2 separate regions of the Homo sapiens genome follow, and region 1 is linked to region 2. The links are contacts of gene promoters, found by promoter capture Hi-C in human tissues and cell types (Jung and others, 2019). All regions are on one chromosome and are shown on one strand. The core of a region is centred on a gene start or on the middle of the fragment in contact, and the rest is flanking DNA. Distances in the headings are between cores, read along the strand shown. Region 1 overlaps LINC01033 (long intergenic non-protein coding RNA 1033). Region 2 holds the start of HSPB3 (heat shock protein family B (small) member 3).

Region 1 (4,561 bases), core at 427-2,926, 130 kb before region 2:
TCCATGTGACAGATGGCAGTGCACATAAATGGAGAATCTCTGCACTTCTCTTTGGTAGCAGAAATATCTATAGAGATCGTACAACTAGGTAGAGCTCTCAGTTCCTATAAGTAAAATAACAGATAAATTATTATATAAAATAGCTGTGTTGGAAGAAATACTTTGAATCTCAAACTCCTAATCACTTATATTCATAAATGTTCTCCATTCAACATATTACTTTGATAATGTCTAGACTACTAAACTAAAAGTTCCAGACCACATACAAAGTACAAAGTATCCAGATGAAAGTGATGCTTTGACTGAATTACCAAGGAAAAATATCAGCTTTTGTCTTATGCCAGTAATCCTCACTGGTCCTCAACTTTTAGGATATATTTAGAAGGAGAAAAATAAAAATAAAAAATGTTGCCTGGTCCATACTAGTACAGAATGTTATTTACTAATATTAAGTGGGAATTCAGTTTACACCCTTTAAAAAGTATTATATCTCAGATGCCAAACTCTTCAGTAAGAAGGCCGGAAGCTCAGATAACTCAGCCATGTCATAGCAAGATTAACAATTTTGTTTTGTCAGAGAATAAACAATCAGTTTTTACCACAAAGGGACACTTCAATGAGTTATTTATGGTAAGAAAAGGAAATTATAGCAATATTAAGACCATGTGCAGCTCCTATTCAAAATTAAGAAACTCACTATTGCATTGTTTATCTCAGCCTCAACATTCTTATGAGAAGTAATTAACAGTCGTTAGAGGTGTGGTTATTATGCCTGGTTAGGGAAGCAGTGGGGCTCTATTTGCTCAAACCTCTCAGGAAAAGGCTACAATTACTGTGTGGATACAGGAATATCACAGTTATGAGTGGTATTGTTCATAGGGCATTTCACAAGACAAAGCAATAATAAAATACTTAGTTCTTAGGATATCAAAGGTTATTTTGTGAAAATGATTTGACATACCACAATCCTAAAACTTGACAAACTACTCTCAAAATGTTTTAAGAATTATGTGAACCCAGAAACAAATGTGAAAACTGTTTTCACACAGGAAAGCCTCCACTGAGGATTATGAATCTTATGAAAGACAAATGCCCTATTTTGAGTACATGGTGATATAGTTGGTCACCTTCAGGTATGCTTATTTATGTTTTGCAGGATTGCAGTAATGGTTAAATAGTAGACCAAATTAGCATGTCTGGGTCTCCTCAAGTCTTATGTTTCCTTCAGTGGTCCCATATGAGTTACTAAAATTTCCAGTTTTATGTAGAATGCAGCATAGGTTGACCATAAACACAACTTTGTATCATTGTCCAAAGTTGTAAAACAGAGATTGTCACTGCAGGGTCATGCAACAGAAAGGGAGGAAATGCTGTTTTGTACCATATCAAAAATGATAAGCTACATTTTCCGAAGGACTAAAATATCCCTCTTATTGAGAACAGAAAGAAGGGCAAGAATGACTTGTTTAAAACCTGCAAGTTGATAAGGAGCGATGTCCCAGCCTTTACAACATCATGGATGTAAACCTTGAGAAAGGAACAGGAAGCTTGTTTACAAATGAACAAATTCCTGCTTTTGTAAGAGAAAATTCAAGCTGTGGCACATTTTTTAAATTAATAGATGTTTTTAATAAATTGGTACCTAGGAGGGATTCATCATGTTCACTGTGCTTGACAAGTACAAAATTAAGCGAGTTAAATCAGCTCCAAAGAAAAAAAGGCTGTGTAGGCAACCCATCAAATGACTGAAAGCTGGGGTAGTCCCTTCAGTGGGCGAACTGCTTATGCTACCTGAATAGACTTTGCTCAGAAAAGACTTCTATTGAAAGAACCACAGGTGTGAAGTTAATATGCGTTTGTAACAGTTTTCAATCAAATGCCTCATCAAATAGGGTAGTTTAACACTTGACGCATAAATTTGCATCAGAATCATAGCATCAACTAACTGGGAGAAAATGGCAGTTAACTGTGAAGCTGTCCTGTGTAATAGGTGCTCTGCAATGCAATAGGCTCACAAAAATCCTGCCCCCGTTCCTAGTGGGATGCAGGATTACATGGCAATTAACAATGTGAATTCTGGAGATGAATTCCACGCAAGTTCCAACTCACATCCCACCTTTTATTTGGGAAAGTTATTTAAATTTTCGATGCCTGAATTTCCTTACCTGGAAAGTGCTGATAATAGAAACCAACTCCACACAAATTGTTTGGATTAAACTATTTAATACATGCAAAGCTATAAACCACTTAGAATGGCACCTGGCATATAGTAAGCCCTCAAAATATTTTTTTTCTTACCCATGATTGTCAAGGATTACCTGGATCCTAGCAGAAGGGAAATTAAGGGCTAGATTGTGCAAGAAAAGTACTACTGGGGCCTATAATTCAAACCCTGGAAAAGAGGTAGGACATAGAAGGACATGAGATAAAGAACGTGGTTTATTTAGGGGAGGGGATGGTAAATTCTAAGGGACTGAAAAAGGCAGAATTAAGCATGATCTTTTATTAAACAGCCTGACTGGAGTGGCAAAATCAGGTTGTGAGATGTGTCCGGTTGATGGAGGGCTTGAATGTTATGGTTGAGGAGATCAGGCTCTGACAGGAAGCCACTATAGTCTCTCCAGGTAATGTTCTAAAAATAGTACTAATTCCTAGAAAACAAGATAGAATGTAGGGGAAGAGCCTAGAAGCAGATATTTCAGTTAAAAGGCATTGAGGCTTATCTAAGAATGCACAGGGTGAGGTTCTGGACCAGGGTGATAAGCATGACTGGAGGAGGAAAGCAACTGCCAAAGAAAAAATAGGAAGCCTTGAAATAATTAGATACGGGGATCAAAAGAGAGAGGAGGCAAAGATGTCTCTAGGATCTTGAGGTTGCCTCTACTGGCTAACATTTTACTTAAATGAGATAAGGCAGTAGTTGTTAGACAGTAGAAAATGAAGGGACTTTAGGAGCTGGCCTCACCCTTTGTATTTGAAGGTTTCCAAACCATCATTTGTGAAAGCGAGAGTGAGAAAGAAGGGGTCAAGACTCCTGAGTATTACAAGGGCATTTCCTGGGTAGCAGAGCTCCACCTAGTACAGCTGTTTGTGATTAGAACCACCTGAAGGATTAACAGCTCAAAAGGACTGACACTAAAGCAGAACAAGAGCTGCAAATAAGCCTTCTGGGGTCAGAATATAAAACGTTGAAGTCGTTTAACAGCTCTTTCATTAGTGTGGATTTTGTTGCCTATTTTACCTTAATGATTGGATTGAGTATCATGTTATATAATATTTCACAAGCAGTAATTCAATGTTCAAGTACTTTGAAGTATTTAGAAGTACTGCCTATTCTCCTCAATACTGGAAAGATCCTCATAGATTAGGAAAAGCCCGAACTAAGCAACCTAAATTCTCTTCCCACTAACCTGCTTAACTGTTCTAGGTTCCAATTTATTTAAAGAAGTGAGAGTTGGATGTTTTACCAATGTGGGATTTTCAGCACCTTGTCTTCCTTGGCTGAGGGGAGCCTCTGAAGGGATACTTGTTATTGGTCCTGCAAATGAACTGCTCCAGCTAGGTACAGGCTAAAAAAATGATTTACTCTCCTATGTTCTCCCTCTGATTCCCATGGCACAGTAGGAATTGCTCTAGGTCCCTTGTTCCTGATGAGCCCTAAATGCCTTTTGTCCCACATGTTGCTGACATTCTCAGTTTGTTCTCTTCCACACTCCGTTTCTCCATTCTCTGACCCACCCTACTAACCGCATTCCCCAGGCTCCCTTGCCAATGGGAAACATCAGCTGGAGACGAGAAGGTGGGAGTTGAAGAGGGGCTGGAGTATTCACGCCTGGCACACCTGTCCTGCTATGGCATAGTGTGGCAATAGCCGCATCCCTCTACATCCACAGCCCTTGCTGGCGGCCCCTTTCATGGCTCTAGCTCTCAGTAGACTGTGGTAACATTGGTTCTGTCCTTCGTGTCTTCATGCATGGAGGTGATAAGGGCTCCCTCTGGGGCTAGTTCTTGGTGCTTCACCATCCCTTGTTGATTCCCAGACCCCTGTTCACACCAATGTAAATAGTCCCTTTATTAAATTCTCTTCCAAAACCCCAGCTAATGGTCTTCTCTTTCCTACCAAAACCCATTCTTTGAGGAGTGTACAGTGATGAAGGCAAGCTGGTATAATCAGATGTCCCACATGAACATATAACATCATGGAGCTTTATTTTACATGGGTACATTTTTTTTCCTAAGGGTTTAGGTATGTAACTTTATGCCTGAAACTTTTATTAAGAAGGAATATTTTTAAATGGTATGAGACATCATAAAACAACTTAGTTTTTGAAGGGAAGCTATAAGTCAAATTCATTTTTATTTTAAGAATTTGCAAATTATAGACTTGAATAAGCGTATCAAACATTCCTAAACAGGCTAAACACTGTTACAACTATATAGAAAAAGGGATTTATTATAGGGCTAAGACCTTACACAGTTTTACCAATGGAAGGGACTATGCAAGGCTGCTGTCTCTGCATTAGGTGTTGAGCCAGAAGTTGTTCTAAGTCAGCCAGACCAA
Region 2 (4,920 bases), core at 1,940-4,439:
TTTTTTGAGAAGTTTTTTAGAGCAAGGGTTTGGGGAGACAGAGGGATGAATAAGTGGAGCCCAGAGGGTTTTTAGGGCAGTAAAACTACTCTACATGATACTGTAATGGTGGATACATGTCACCACCATGCATAAAATGTACAACACCAAGACTGAACCCTAGGGTGAAATATGGACTCAGGCTGATAATGATGTGTCAGTGTAGGTTTATCAGTTGTAACAAATGTACCACTTTGAGGCTGGGAGCGGTGGCTCATGCCTGTAATCCCAGTACTTTGGGAGTCCAAGGTGGGCAGATCACCTGAGGTCAGGAGTTCAAGACCAGCCTGGCCAACATTGTGAAACCTCGTCTCTACTAAAACTACAAAAATTAGCTGGGCATGGTGGCGGGTGCCTATAATCCCAGCTACTTGGGAGGCTGAGGCAGGAGAATCGCTTGAACCTTGGAGGTTGAGGTTGCGGTGAGCTGAGATGGTGCCACTGCACTCCAGCCTGGTCCACAGAGCGAGACTCCATCTCAAAAAAAAAAAAAAGTACCACTTTGGGGGTGGTGTTGATAATGGGGGAGGCTGTACATGTGTAGGGGTAGGAGGCATGTAGGAAATGTCTGTAGCTTTCCCTCAGTTTTGCTGTAAATCTTACTAGTGTTTGAATGCCAAATCCTTAAGATCATATCTATTTCTTGTCACTGGCAGTGAGTTCTGTTCTTGACTTTCCACTAAGAGCAGTACTGATGACAACATCCCGCAGTATTTTATGAGCCGGAGAACATTAACATATCTAAAAGAGTACATTTTCCTCTGGAGGGCCACCAGCCTGTAAACTGCAGGTCAAAAAGCTGAGTGTGAACAGCATTGTTAGGACATGTTTCTAAGTGTATGCCAATATGTCCACAGAGGTTTTTTTAGACTTATAAAGCGAGCTAAAGAAGACTTTTGTTCCATTTTCTGATTTTTAATTTATATAGACATTTTTTCATTTGAAGAAAGTGCATATATTTTTAAAGGAAAGGTACTCTTAAGTCTATCCATTTAAGAAAATATTAATCTCCATGGAGAAGAAATTTTCCATATTTTAAAATTTATTGTGTGTAGGTATATTCCATATACACTCTATAAATAAAAAGCACACTGGCTGGGCGCAGTGGCTCATATCTATAATCCCAATGCTTTGGGAGGCTGAGGCGGGCAGATCACCTGAGGTCAGGAGTTTGAGACCAGCCTGGCCAACATTGTGAAACCCTGTCTCTACTAAAGATACAAAAATTATCTGGGTGTGATGGCAGACGCCTATAGTCCCAGCTACTCAGGAGGCTGAGGCAGGAGAATCACTTGAACCTAGGAGGTGGAGGTTGCAGTGAGCCAAGATGGCACTACTGCACTCCAGCCTGGGCAACAGAGCGACACTCCATCTCAAAAAAATAAATAAATAAATAAAATAAAAAGCACACACTATCACAAAGAAGATGGTGGCAAAAATAATAATAAAAATAGTAAGTAAATAAATAGCACAGAAGTATTTACAGTAAAAAATTAGGTCTCCTTCCAGCCCCCACCTGCCAATCACTCTCAGGAGGCACCCACTGTCTTCAGCTACAAAGCTTTCAGAGAGATTTTATTAATATAAGCAAATACATACTTTTTAAAAAAGTATAAATAAGGCCTGGTGCAGTGGCTCACGTCTGTAATTCCAGCACTTTGGGAGGATGAGGTGGAAGGATCTCTTCAGGCCAGGAGTTAGAGACCAGCCTGGGCAACATAACAAGACCCCCATCTCTAAAAAAACAATCAAAAAAACTAACTGGGCATGGTGGCATGGTTCTATAGTCCCAGCTACTCAGGAAGCTGAGAGTGAGGGATTTCTTGATTCCAGGACTTCGAGGCTGTCACCCACTCCAGCTTGGGTGACAGAGCAAGACTCTGTCTCAAAAAAAAAAAAAGTATAAACACTAGCATATCATATATTGCCCTGGACTTTTCTTTTTGATTTAACATATCTTGGAGATTCTTCCATAGCTGTGGATAAGGAGTTGCCTCATTCTTTTTCAGGGTAAGTTTAGTATAAAGGGTGATATAGTGGGGAAATTATATTTAATTTATTTTTGCCAACTCAGTAGCAGAGCTGTGACAAGATTAATCCTTAGATTTTTGGAGGTTCATATCAAATCATTCAAAGCTTTGACATTTTTCTCTTCTTTGTGGCTCTATTTTCATCACTAAAATTCCCCATCCTATGCCCCTGCAGCCCCCATCTGACGTTTGTCACTTCTCTAGCTTAGTCATCTGATCTAATTTTGATGAGTCAGATGTAAATAAACCCAGATAATGTGTCTTTTAGCCCAAAAGACTAAAAGATAAAATAAAAGGAAATGCATAGGACACAGGGCAGTTTGTTGAATGGCTGAGATTTGAATATGTGTGTATTAATTCTTTCTGAATTACAGCTAGATTCTGCCCTCCCCAGCTTTGTATCTGGAGACGAGGGAAAATGTGATCCCAGTTCATATTATGAGTGAACATCTCTGACTGTTCTAAGAAGTCCTATTCCCTTAGATTACTGAAGTTCACAGGGAGAAAGCACCCACCCAGATATTTTTGGTTTTTGTTTGTTTGTTTGTTTGTTGAGATGGAGTCTCACTCTATTGCCCAGGCTAGAGTGCAACGGTATGGTCTTGGCTCGCTGAAACCTTTGCCTCCTGGTTCAAGCGATTCTCCTACCTCAACCTCCCAAGTAGCTAAGATTTCAGACATAAGCCACCATGCCCAGCTAATTTTTGTGTTTTTAGTACAGACAGGGTTTCACCACATTGTTCAGGCTGGGCTTGAACTCCTGACCTCAGGCGATCCACCCGCCTCAGCCTCCCGAAGTGCTGGGATTACAGGCATGAGCCACCGCACCTGGCCTCACCCAGATATTTTTCAAATACCATTTTCGATTCCCACTCTCTTTCTTGAAGTAAGCAAGGCAGACACATTTGCCAAGGATAACTGAGAATGTAAGGGCAATCCATGACTGGGCAGCTTGTGCAGGCTGTGTGCTAAATGCACTGGGAAACATGCCCTATAAATAGCCGTTCATTGTCAGCATGTGTGAAAAGACAAGAGAGCATTCCGTGCTATGATTCAGGCCTAATTAAGTGATTGCGTCTGGGCACGGCTATAAACCACTAGCTGCTTCAACTGGTAATCCAGTCAGTAGGCAACTGCAGGGGCTCGCCACTGACTGAAGGCAGTGGAAGGTTGGCAGAAGGAGGCTGTTCAAGGCTGTTTTTGCCTTCACTATGGCAAAAATCATTTTGAGGCACCTCATAGAGATTCCAGTGCGTTACCAGGAAGAGTTTGAAGCTCGAGGTCTAGAAGACTGCAGGCTGGATCATGCTTTATATGCACTGCCTGGGCCAACCATCGTGGACCTGAGGAAAACCAGGGCAGCGCAGTCTCCTCCAGTGGACTCAGCGGCAGAGACGCCACCCCGAGAAGGCAAATCCCACTTTCAGATCCTGCTGGACGTGGTCCAGTTCCTCCCTGAAGACATCATCATTCAGACCTTCGAAGGCTGGCTGCTGATAAAAGCACAACACGGAACCAGAATGGATGAGCACGGTTTTATCTCAAGAAGCTTCACCCGACAGTACAAACTACCAGATGGTGTGGAAATCAAAGATTTGTCTGCAGTCCTCTGTCATGATGGAATTTTGGTGGTGGAAGTAAAGGATCCAGTTGGGACTAAGTGACATCGTATCGGTTCCTGTTCAGATGACATGGGGAAGATGATGGTTCAGCCACTGGTACTACGAGAATGTTTGTATTACCCACATTTGAAATGATTTGCTATGATTTTTATGAAGATTAAAAATATATACACAGTTCCTGGTATGTTGAGGTTGTCTTTATTATTCTTACTCAGAAAGGAAAATTTGTAAATATGTTTGTGTGGCTCAAACTGATACTATTCTTACAACTGAAACATTGAAAATACAGAAGGCTGTATTTGGATATTAGAGAGGACTCCGAATTGTTTCTTATTATTCCAACAATGCCAGCTGCATTTGTAATCACTGATGGCAAAAGAGCTATACCCATTTAAGGAATTCCTATCCATTTTATGAAAATCTTTTATTTTGCCAAAAAGAGTTGTGATTCCCTTCACTCGATAAGCTTTTCTTTTTAATGTATTTTAATTAAAATGAGGTTTTATAAATATGGAGTGCAAAAATTAAAATACAGTATTTGGAAATTGGGTCTGATATCTATTTATGATTTAGTATAGTTGTTACTGCCTTAAAGGTCAATGGGAATTTTCAGATATAAATCTTATTTTTAAAAAGTTCAAATATGTACCTCATTCATCTTTTTAAAGATATACTGAATCCTATCTGAAGTGTTTTGACTTTTTAAAGATAGTATAAGTTCTATGGACACGTACAAAATGTTCATGAGATATGTATTTACATATCCTCTTGTAAATTAATATGAAGCTTAAGGACACCACTTTTAAAAGTTTGATTGCTGAATTCAGTGAGTTTTAATCTGTGCTTTTTAGATGCTCCATAAACTTAGATGGCAAAATGTAACACATCTGCTATCTCTGCATAATCCTTAGCTTTAAATAGCCTGGCAGCCAATGGAAGTTCAACACCTGAGCTTACACTGCGTGTCTGAGTTTACACAGCACATCTGATGATTGGTGCTTATTATATTCTCCCAAACTACTGCCTTGGCTCAAGGTGGAGACATTGGTAGAGGTTAAGGACTAGTGCCTTCAACAGCTGCTCTGGGACATTCCAAAGGTTTGCTATCTCATTCTGTATACATTAAGTATTTCTTCAGAGGCAGTGGCTGCCTGCCTTTTACCCCGCACTGAATGTGAGCTGACAAGCAGCCCAAGGACAGTGCTAAGAATAGACATGGAATGCAGGGT

What was found. Contacts are between HindIII fragments. The study calls those that stand out against the background at their distance.
Region 1: a fragment that was not itself captured here is called in contact with the fragment with the promoter of HSPB3 in region 2 in 1 of the 25 tissues and cell types used here (hippocampus).

The regions. Positions count from the first base shown.
Region 1 is chr5:54,323,089-54,327,649 of GRCh38, forward strand. The region is part of intron 1 of LINC01033 (long intergenic non-protein coding RNA 1033); the gene reads left to right. Among named protein-coding and RNA genes, the nearest start is that of LINC01033, 4.4 kb to the left of the region's middle. RefSeq lists an enhancer at 2,683-2,827 and a cis regulatory region at 2,747-2,764. The HindIII fragment of the contact is 4,465 bases long and covers 1-3,909 here.
Region 2 is chr5:54,452,510-54,457,429 of GRCh38, forward strand. It overlaps HSPB3 (heat shock protein family B (small) member 3), which reads left to right and starts at 3,190. Exons shown (of 1, transcript NM_006308.3): 1 at 3,190-3,868. The coding sequence starts at 3,281. The coding sequence ends at 3,733. The HindIII fragment of the contact is 2,000 bases long and covers 1,888-3,887 here.